Regions from separate parts of the Homo sapiens genome. Here region 1 is linked to region 2. Evidence: promoter capture Hi-C in human tissues and cell types (Jung and others, 2019). All regions are on one chromosome and are shown on one strand. The core of a region is centred on a gene start or on the middle of the fragment in contact, and the rest is flanking DNA. Distances in the headings are between cores, read along the strand shown. Region 1 has its middle 7.8 kb from the start of LSM5. Region 2 holds the start of RP9 (RP9 pre-mRNA splicing factor).

Region 1 (4,731 bases), core at 783-3,282, 630 kb after region 2:
CCTTTATTATTTGCTATCCCAGGGGAGCTAATAGTCATACCCAAGCTCTTCCTTTTTTCATCATAGGAGTTAGGCCAGGTGCAGTGGCTCATGTCTGTAATCCCAGTGCTACATTGTAGGTGGTCGAGGTGGAAGGATAGATTGAGGCCAGGAGTTGGAGACCAGCCTGGGTAATATAGTGAGACCCCATCTCTACCAAAAATTTTAAAAAATTAGTGAGGTGTGGTAGTGTGCATGCACCTGTAGTCCTACGTAGTTGGGAGGCTGAGGCAGGAGAATTGCTTGAGCCCAGGAGTTTGAGATTTCAGTAAGCTATGATTGCACCACTGTACTCCAGCCTGGGTGACAGTGAGACCCCGTCTCAAAACCTACAATGAAACGCCATTTCATGGGTGCTATAGAATGGCTATAATTATAAAAAATTATTGTAACAAGAATTGTACAAAAATTAATGTAACAAGTATTGGCTGGGATATGAAGAAATTGGAGCCCTAGTACCTTGCTGGTGCGAATGTAAAATGATGCATGCACTGTGGAAAATAATTTGATGATTCCTCAAAAAGTTAAACAATTACCATACGACCCTGCAACTCCTCTCCTCAGTTCATACCCAAGAGAACTAAAAACATGTCTGCACAAAAACTTGTATGAACATTCACGGCAGCATTATTCCTAATGTCTCAAAGTGGAAGCAACCCAAATGTCCATCGATGGATGGATGGATAACTGAAATGCGATATATTCATACAATAGAATATTATCTGTTAAAATGAATGAAGTACTTGTGTATGCTACAGTGTGGATGAACTGTAACATTATGCTAAGTGAAAGAAGCCAGACACAAAAGACCACATATTTGATTTATATGATCCAGAACAGGCAAATTCACAGAAATAGACAACTATACTAGTGACTGCTAATGGGTATGGGTTTGTTTTTTGGGGTGATGAAAAAGTTCTGGGATTAGATGGTTGCACAACCTTGTGAATATACTAAAAAGCACTGAATTATAACCTTAAAAGAGTGGATTTCATGTTACATGAATTACATCTCAATTTTTAAAAAGTGATGTATCTGAGGCATATCTAGTGTAACTTCTGAGGCCCTAAAGAAATTACTTTCCCATGAGTAACAGCTTGGGTTGTGGCTGCTGAAAGGACTTTAACCACCTAAGCATCAAACCCCCTTCTGGTTAAGACTGAACAGAATAAGGATTTGGGAAAGGTTGTTTTGGGCATTTAACTTAAGAATGTTGGACATTTTTTGTTTGTTTTGAGACAAGGTCTTGCTCTGTCACCCAGGCTAGAGTGCAGTGGTGTGATCAGTGCTCACTGCAGCTTCGAACCACTGGGATCAAGCGATTCTCCCCCCTTAGCCTCCCAAGTAGCTGGATCCACAGGCAGGTGCCACCATGCCCAGCTATCTTTTCTCTTTTTGTTTTTTTAAAGATAGGGTCTCGGTCTGTCACCCAGACTGGAGTGCAGTGGTCATGGCTCACTGTAGCCTCGACTTCTCGGGCTCAGGTGATCCTCCCACACTACAGGTGCACACCACCACACCTGGTTAATTTTTTGTGTTTTTGATAGAGACTGGGTCTTGTCATATTGCCCAGGCTGGTCTCAAACTCTGGGCTCAAGCGATCAACTCGCCTTGGCCTCCCAAAGTGCTGGGATTACAGTTGTGAGCCACCGTGCCTGGCCTAATTTTTTAATATTTTGTAGAGACAGGGTGTCACCATGTTGCCTAGGCTGGTTGATTCTTAACTTACAAAAATAAGGGTATTTAGTTTTGGATTTTAATTCTAGTGGAGTTTAACATTTTTGGACTTTGATTTGGAAGGAGGTTTAATTTTTGAATTCCAGTAAATTTGATAATGGCACAGGATTATATGTAGATTTGGGCATCTCTGTTGTTGGCATTTTATTATTGGGTGTTGGTGTGCTGATATGCCAGGTTAGACCATTTATTAGTTGGGGTTCTCCAGAGATGACCAATAGTATATGTATATAGATATATAAGGGGATTTATTAGGAGAATTGGTTCATGCGATTATGGAGGCTGGGAAGCCCCAAAACAGGCTGTCTGCAAGCTGGAGACCTTGATGTGGCTCAGTCCAAGTCCAAAGACCTCAGAGCTTGGGATGCTCATGATAAAATTCTCAGTCTGAGGCTGAAGGCCTGAGAACCCAGGGGGCTACTGGTGTAAGTCCTGGAGTCCAGAGGTCTCCTAAAGTTGGGATCACTCTTCCTTCTCTGTCCTCAGAGGACAACATCATCAGAACATCAGGAGTTCTTATATCCAAAGACAGAGAAGGAAGAGTTATCCCCGCTCTAGGAGGGAGACAGACATGTTGCCTTTTCTGTGTTGTTCTCTTTGGACCTTCTGTCAACTGAATGCTGGCCCACATTGAAGGTGTATCTCACCTAGTCCACTCAGACTCACACCCTAAAGTAGTCTGGAAACACCCTCATAAACACAGCCAAATAATGCTTTACTAGGTTTCTAGATATCCTTAATCCAGTTAACTTGACACCTAAAATTAGCCATCACAGATCATGTTGCAGGATCAGGAGGACCAGAGAGAGACCTTGGGGTGTATAGAGGAGGATATATTTATTATTGAGTGCACTCAGACCCTGCAGACTTAACATTGAAATACTGGGCCCAGAACAAAGACAGCACTTGATTTTATGCACACTTCACAAAAGGGGGTGGGCTAGCTTGAAGCAAGCTTACAGTGGCCTGAAAGCAGGGATACAGAGGCAGGACAAAGACAGTTAATCAAATTGTAACAGATCATAACTCAGGATTACACATGACCATTGCCAGTCAACCCAGATGTCTGTTATCTAGGTTTTGCCTAGGCACGGGCTTATCCTATAACCTTCACTGGCACCCAGGTGGCCATAACACAGGCCTGCTCAGAGGCTCTGACCTTCACTCTACTGCTTAGATAAAACAGAATGTTTGAAGTCACTGGTTACAGAGAACAGGAATCTATAAACTCATTCCATAAAACGAAGGAAAATTTGTTTTTCTTCTCCGTATGTTGAGGGAATGCTGGGAGAGTTTCCAGAGCACATTAGATAATATTATCAAGACTTCCTGGGTCTGGGCTGTGCCTTTTGCTGCCTCTGGGACAAGTCAGCCTAACACAGGAAAACTTATTTCTCTTTCTTTTTAAGTTTATTTTTCTTTAATTTCCCGCCTCAACAATGTGGTGGGCATACTTTGGGTGGGAAATGGAGTGAATTTTCAGACTTAGAATTACAGAAGCCTTGGAGTTGCCTTAATTAATATATTATTCTGACTCTGTTTAGAGCCTTTTGGGGCAAAATCTAAACTGCTTCCAGTGATCCCAATGGCAGTTGGATTTGGGAGTGATAGACTGTGTTCTTCTCTATGGCTCTAATGGTTAAGTTCAGTGAGTGAAAAGAACAAAAAGATGGGGAATGTAAGGGAAATGCTTCTTTTCTACCTCTGATGTTTTCTTCTACATGAAAGCTTAATTAGTGTAACACATCTGCCCTCTCTCTGTCCTTTTATTCTGTATGCCCGGAGACATGCAGACTGAGTTGCCTGAGGGAGTGTGGGTTCTGCTCTGCTTTTTCCTGTAAGTTTTAGAGGTGTCTGCTTCCACATGAAGAAGTCTGGGGTGGTTTGTGGTTTGCCTATGGTTTGGTGGGTACATCTGAATAATTCTGGAGTTCCAAACACAGAAGTTAACTACAGTCTGTAGATATAAGTTACATCATCCAATGTAGTAGTAGTAACAATGACTGCTGTCTGTTTTCTACTTTGCCTTTGTTCTCAATTGGTTCAGAACTCAATTGTGGAAGAAGAGTGCTAATTATTGGCCCCCCTCAAGACTCCAATAGCCCTTGAGTCTCTGCTGTACTAAGACAAAAACCTCCTCTGCCTTCCTGCCTGCCTCCCATCTCTACCCTGTCATATCTGTCCATCCCAGCCATCAGACCATCAGAGCAACTGACTGATTGATCTAAAATGCAGGATATGGTCATGCTATGTTTGGCTTTATTTTTTTGAGATGGAGTTTCGCTCTTGTTGCCCAGGCTGGAGTGCCATGGCGCGATCTCGGCTCACAGCAACCTCTGCCTCCGAGGTTCAAGCGATTCTCCTGCCTCAGCCTCCTGAGTAGCTGGGATTACACGTATGAGTTACCACGCCTGGCTAATTTTGTATTTTTAGTGGAGACGGGGTTTCTCCATGTTGGTCAGGCTGGTCTTGAACTCCCAACCTCAGGTGATCCACCCGCCTTGGCCTCCCAAAGTGCTGGGATTACAGGTGAAGCCACTCCACCTGGCCGGCTTTCAAACTTTTCAGTAAGTTACCTTCTATACAATGAAAGGCCAGGTTCCTTAACAGGTTACCATGAGGGGTGCCTGTTGACCTTCTCAGTCACATCTCAGTCTTGCCTTCACAGCACAGAATTTATAACACTGGCTGTTACCCATCTTTGGCCTTTGGCTTTACTCATGTTGGACTTTTGTGGGAAGAGCCTTATCTCCAAACCTATCTTCATTTGGTTTACTTGTATTCAAGACTAGGCTCAAATGTCTCTTCCTCCAGAAAGTCCTATGGGAACCCTCATCCCTCTATCACTACTCAATGCTTATATGGGACAGGTCATGGAGGCTTTTGTTATATTGTGAAACTGTCTTGAGTAGCTACTCTCTCCTAGAAAAACAACAGCCTCAAGCAGTTCATACC
Region 2 (5,309 bases), core at 2,020-4,519:
GGGAAGGGGAGGGGAGGGGAGGGAAAAGGCCAGCTGAGGAAAAATACCTCCTCACCCCCATCAACATAGCAGGGCCCCATCTGTATTGTTTTTAATTATTAAATAAATAAATTGAATGAAAAAACATCCCCAAAAGTCCATCTGAGCCGATTTGAGGCCAATGGGACATCAGGGAAATTTGTTTCCAGCAGCTTCCTATCCTCTTCTTTACCAAGAGATTCTCCAAGGGTTTCCAAGAGATTCTCCCACTCCCACTATTCCCACACACCTAAATTCATGAGGGTTGATGAAAAACTCTGGACTAGAAATCAGACCATTTTGGTTGCAGGGCCACACTCTCCTTCTGAGCCTCAATTTCCTTATCTTACATTGTCTTGCATGCCCCCATAGGGTTTCTGTAAAATCAACTGGGAGAACATATGGGGGCAGGGGGAGATCTGCATGGCACTATATAAATGTAAAGAATCATATTTATCTGTGAGTAATAGAAGACCCAACTCAAAATCACTTCAATAATAAAGAAATGTACTATCTCCCAGAATGAGAAGTATGGATAGGTAGCAACACCAGGACTGGTTGATCAAATGTCTCTATCACATCCCCAAGGACCCAGGGGTCTCCTTCTGTCCTCTGCCATCCTCTGGGGGTTGCAGGCAACAACATCTGGAGGCAGAAAGGGGATCTTTGACACTCCCAAGCATCATTTATTAAGAGCAAAGACAACCTTACCCTGAAAGCCACCTCCATCCGACCTCTCCTCATACCTCATTGGCTAAAATTGCACCACAGGTCCATTGCTAAAACAATCAGTGGAAACGAGAACAAAATTACTAATGACTGGCTTAAGACAAGTCAAGACTCACCTCTAGAGAGGCATGAAGAGGCCTCCACTCTCTAACCAGCTTCCTGTATGATTCCTGAACAAAATCAAAGCTGGTAGCAAGGAAGAGAAGGAGAAATGTCAACTCAGTTGCCAAATATTTGCCCCAGAATACCAATTAAGTTTGGTGTCTGACCTTCCTCCCTCAGTCTTTCGTACCTGCAAGCCTAAAGTAAAGCACGTTGCAATTTTCCCTCCGATCCTACTGGTTAGCAACTATTGATGGATAGAAATAATTTTTCTTTTTTTGAGACAGGGGCTCACTCTGTCACTCAGGCTGGAGTGCAGTGACACGATCATGGCTCACTGTAGCCTCCACCTCCTGGGTTCATGCAATCCTCCCACCTAAGCTCCACAAATACCTAGGACAACAGGCACAAGCCACCATGCCTGGCCCTAGAAGTAATTTTAACAGCTGTTTTTAGTGCATGACCAAAGGGATTCTCATGTTTCTACTGCGCTGCAGAAGACCATAGACATGCACGCCTGAGGGTCCACTTCACCATGAGAGTTCCTTGAAGACTTGTATTTTGGGTAGGAAAAAAAGAAAGATTTTGCATTGTACTCTCTAATCTAGCCATGTGATCTTTCCCTTCTCCTACTTTTTTCCTCTCCTCATCTCCCCAGTGGGGAAAGGTCACTGGTAAGATAAGAGCTTGTAAAAATACACCTTAGCAGCAAAACAATGGTGTCAAGATTACACTGTGAAGGGTGATCAATACAAGCAGGAGAAAATCTATTCTTTTTTTAGTTGCTCCATTCTGAAAGGTTTAAAACCTGTCCAGTAGCACAGACTAAGGACCAACTGCAGCTGCCCCACCAGTGGGCCAACACCAAGGCTGCTTGACTGGCCTCAAGAATGAATCTCTGGTGTCTTAGGAGGGGGCAGAAGAATAAAATGAAAAACAGAGGGGTTCATGGACAGGAGGGTACAACAGAAAGAAAGCACAAAGAGAAGTCAGAGAATATCAAATCACAAAATAATTTCATAGTCAGGTGCAGTGATTCCCACCTGTAATCCCAGTGTTTTGGGAGGCTATGGCAGGAGGATTGCTTGAGGCCAGGAGTTCAAGGCCAGCCTAAGCAGCATAGCGAGACCCCGTCTCTACAAAATAAAAAACTTTAAAAAGTTAAAAAGAATTTTGGAAAGAGCAGTATCACATAGAAAATTAATGAGACTGTATCATCGAGGAGAGCCATGTCCTAAAAGAAAAAAAAAAAAGCTATTCATCATGATGCAAGACTTCAAAATATGTTAATCATCATAAAAGTTGGGCAGTTCATGTGGACAATCGCCATGCAATTGCCCATAATCTATCCCTGCAATACACTTTTTCTATGTTGAATTTTCTTTTTAGTTTGCTTTCGTTTTTCTATTTTCTCTTTTAGCTTTTTCATTATTGTAAATTGTCAGCATTATGTTTTACAATTCACTATGCTATGTATTACATCTTAACATCATTTCTAATACTGGAGGCATCAACTATATAAAGACTTTTAGAGAGTTCAAATTTGTTTTATGCATTTTTTGCAAATATGACTCAATCAAAGCTCATTATTACAATGGTGACTGTGTAAGCATTCTACATATATGCAAAAATGTAGAAATTTCCTCGATAAATAAATAAGTGTCTTTTCTGTACATCTGCATTTGTGAAAGATGAAATTTCTCAGGATCTTGGCTCCTCGGGTGACTGGCACAGTGGTGACGTCATGGTGACCCATCCTGTCAAAAGAGTTAGGTTGTCTCTCATGGTATATCAGATGACCGCAGTTATAAAGCTGGGTGCACACTATTACCGAACATAATTATATGTTTATACATTTCACTTTTTGAACACTTTTTTTTTTTTTTTTCTGAGAGACAATCTCGCTTTTTCGCCCAGACTGGAGTGCAGGGGCACCATCTCGGCTCACTGCAACCTCTGCCTCCTGGGTTCAAGCAATTCTCCTGCCTCAGCCACCCAAGTAGCTGGGACTACTGGCGCCCGCCACCACGCCTGGCTAATTTGAACATTTTTTTATGAATACATTTCATCTGCTCATCCCTATGTGACTGTTGCTAGTATACCTGAGGTGGGTGTGGCCGGGCGGGAACCTCCAGGCTCCCAACTAGCGCCTCGCCCCGCTTCGGCTCCAGCTAGGCGGCGCTCCCCACCCACCCGCAGCAGCCCGCCTGGCGGCTGGGCCCGAGACCCGGAGCCCCTGACTTGGGGCCCGACGCGGGGAGGCGGGGATCGGGTGGCCGAGGCTGAGACTTCGGGGCCGCCGGGGTGAGTTGCGGGGCGGCGGCGGGAGGGGGCGCTGCGAAGCCCCGCGACCGCCGCGCGGAGGAAGTGCTCTCTTGGCTGCCGCCGCCGCCGCCGCCGCCGCCGGAGCCGCGCCGCGGGGGTTGCCCGAGCGGCGCTGCGGGGGCTGACATGTCGTCCCGGCCTGGGCGCGAGGACGTGGGGGCTGCGGGCGCGCGGCGGCCGCGTGAGCCGCCGGAGCAGGAGCTGCAGCGACGTCGGGAGCAGAAGCGGCGGCGACACGACGCGCAGCAGCTGCAGCAGCTCAAGCACCTGGAGTCCTTGTGAGTCCCGAGCTGCCGTCCGCGCGCGGCCAGTCTTCTGAAGCCAGGGGCCCGGGGCGCGGGACGCCGCGGTGGGCGCTAGGCCGGGTCCTCCGAGCCCCCGCGAGCAGGCAGGGGGGCTGGGCCCGGCAGGAGCCTGGTGCGGGCGACCGATGTCGGGCGCCGCGGTCAAGGACTTGAAGTCCATCCTCCTGGCGGGGCGTTCAGGGAGCCAACTGCCGCTCGGCACCAAGCAGAATCTGACTTGGGAGGCCCTGCGCTTCCCTAGCTCCAGGGGGTTCCAGGAGAGTCCAAATGACCCGGGAGAGTGTGGTGTAAAGAAGATTCAAATGTAGGGGAAGGAAATATGGTTTCCCTCTACCCTTCTAAGTTCTTAAGCTGGGCCACAAATTAAATTGTCATAAGACAGATTAACAGGAGAAAAACTTTTAATTATGTACCCGTGCACTAGAGGGCCACAAAAGTGGGAGACAAAGAAGGGCCAGGGAATAGGGGCGTGGGCCTTTTGGGGCGTGGTGGAGACCTTTTGGAAGGGTGATGGGGGAAATGTATGGTGAATAAAGGTTGCTTTGTTATCCCGATGAGGCGCTCAGGCGATAAAAGTTGCCCCCAAGCAGCTGTCTTCCTGATACAGATACATTTACTACAGAAAATTTCCTTTATAGGTGTAAATTTCTGTTTACAACAGGCGAGTCGAAAAATAATAAGAACAAAAGGAAAAAAAGCAGTCATACTTTATTTTAGGCAGTTGAGGGGTAGCTGAATAAGTTATCCTGTGTTGTTTGGTTCTGTTACTTATAGCTCAAAGTCATCAATATGCCAGGGTGGCATGTTTGGGGATGGTGCATTCTTGTCTTTTGCAGTCATTTATCAGGGTGGCGTTTCCTAAATTCTAACACAGACCTCGAGTGGAAAGTTCAGGCAGCAACTCTTTCAGTTCTTGTCCGTGATTCTATAATTAGCTGCATAAAACAACCTTTTCTAAGTGTGGCATTCACTCAGTTATTCAAGAATTCGTTTCTGTTTTAGCCACTTCTAGTTACCTGTGCTAAGTAGGTGTTAAGTATAGCCTAACGCTGCCTCCTTGAATATTTTAAGTTTAGCCTAAAAGTTTCTCTGTACTTAGTGAACTGTAACCTAAGTAGATGTGTAAACAGACTGTAACCTACTGTTATAAGTACCTGAGTCTCAGACAATCACAGCAGCTGATTTTCAGGCCGTCACAGGTGGTCAGCCTTTGAAACCCTGTTCAAAGAAGGCAAACGCCAGGCTGTATGGAATCCAGCTATTTCTCTACCTCATTTGCTTTTCTGTACATCACTTTCCTTTTCCTGTCCATAAATGTTATCCCACCAGGTGGCAGCCTGAGAATTGCTCTGGACCTATTCTGGTTATGGGGGTGCCCTCTTTGAAAACAGTTCTTTGCTCAAGTAGAGTTTAATTTGTCTACTTTTAAAAAACATAATTCATATAAGAAAAGTTCCTCAAAGAATTAAAATCCTTTTTATAATTAACCTTCTGGGAGGTTTGATGTGAGATAAATTCCTATGTTGGGACCTGGCCTGCTCTTTTTCCAGTGTGGCCCGCTCTGAACGACTTTTCCCCTTAGCAGGGCAGGGGATGCAGGATAGAGACCCTGCATTGTGGGCATCCATGTTACAGGGCAGTCCTGGCCCTTTCAAGTCACTGTGTGGCGCTCTTGGTCTCCCAGGGAAGTCAGGTGTTCAAAGATCTTCCCCTAGCGTAAGCATCAGAATGCCTGGCCCTGCCCAGCCCTCAATATATTTAGCTATAGAATGCTAGAGGATGGTTAATTCCACTTATTTGTAGCTCAGAGAGCTTTTTCACAGATGAGAG

Evidence for each region. Contacts are between HindIII fragments. The study calls those that stand out against the background at their distance.
Region 1: a fragment that was not itself captured here is called in contact with the fragment with the promoter of RP9 in region 2 in 1 of the 25 tissues and cell types used here (lymphoblastoid cells).

Annotation. Positions count from the first base shown.
Region 1 is chr7:32,480,262-32,484,992 of GRCh38, reverse strand. No RefSeq gene overlaps it. Among named protein-coding and RNA genes, the nearest start is that of LSM5, 7.8 kb to the left of the region's middle. The HindIII fragment of the contact is 4,347 bases long and covers 1-4,205 here.
Region 2 is chr7:33,107,364-33,112,672 of GRCh38, reverse strand. RP9 (RP9 pre-mRNA splicing factor) reads left to right here and starts at 3,269. Exons shown (of 6, transcript NM_203288.2): 1 at 3,269-3,452. The coding sequence starts at 3,301. RefSeq lists silencers at 2,894-3,373, 3,384-3,613. The HindIII fragment of the contact is 15,438 bases long and covers 1-5,309 here.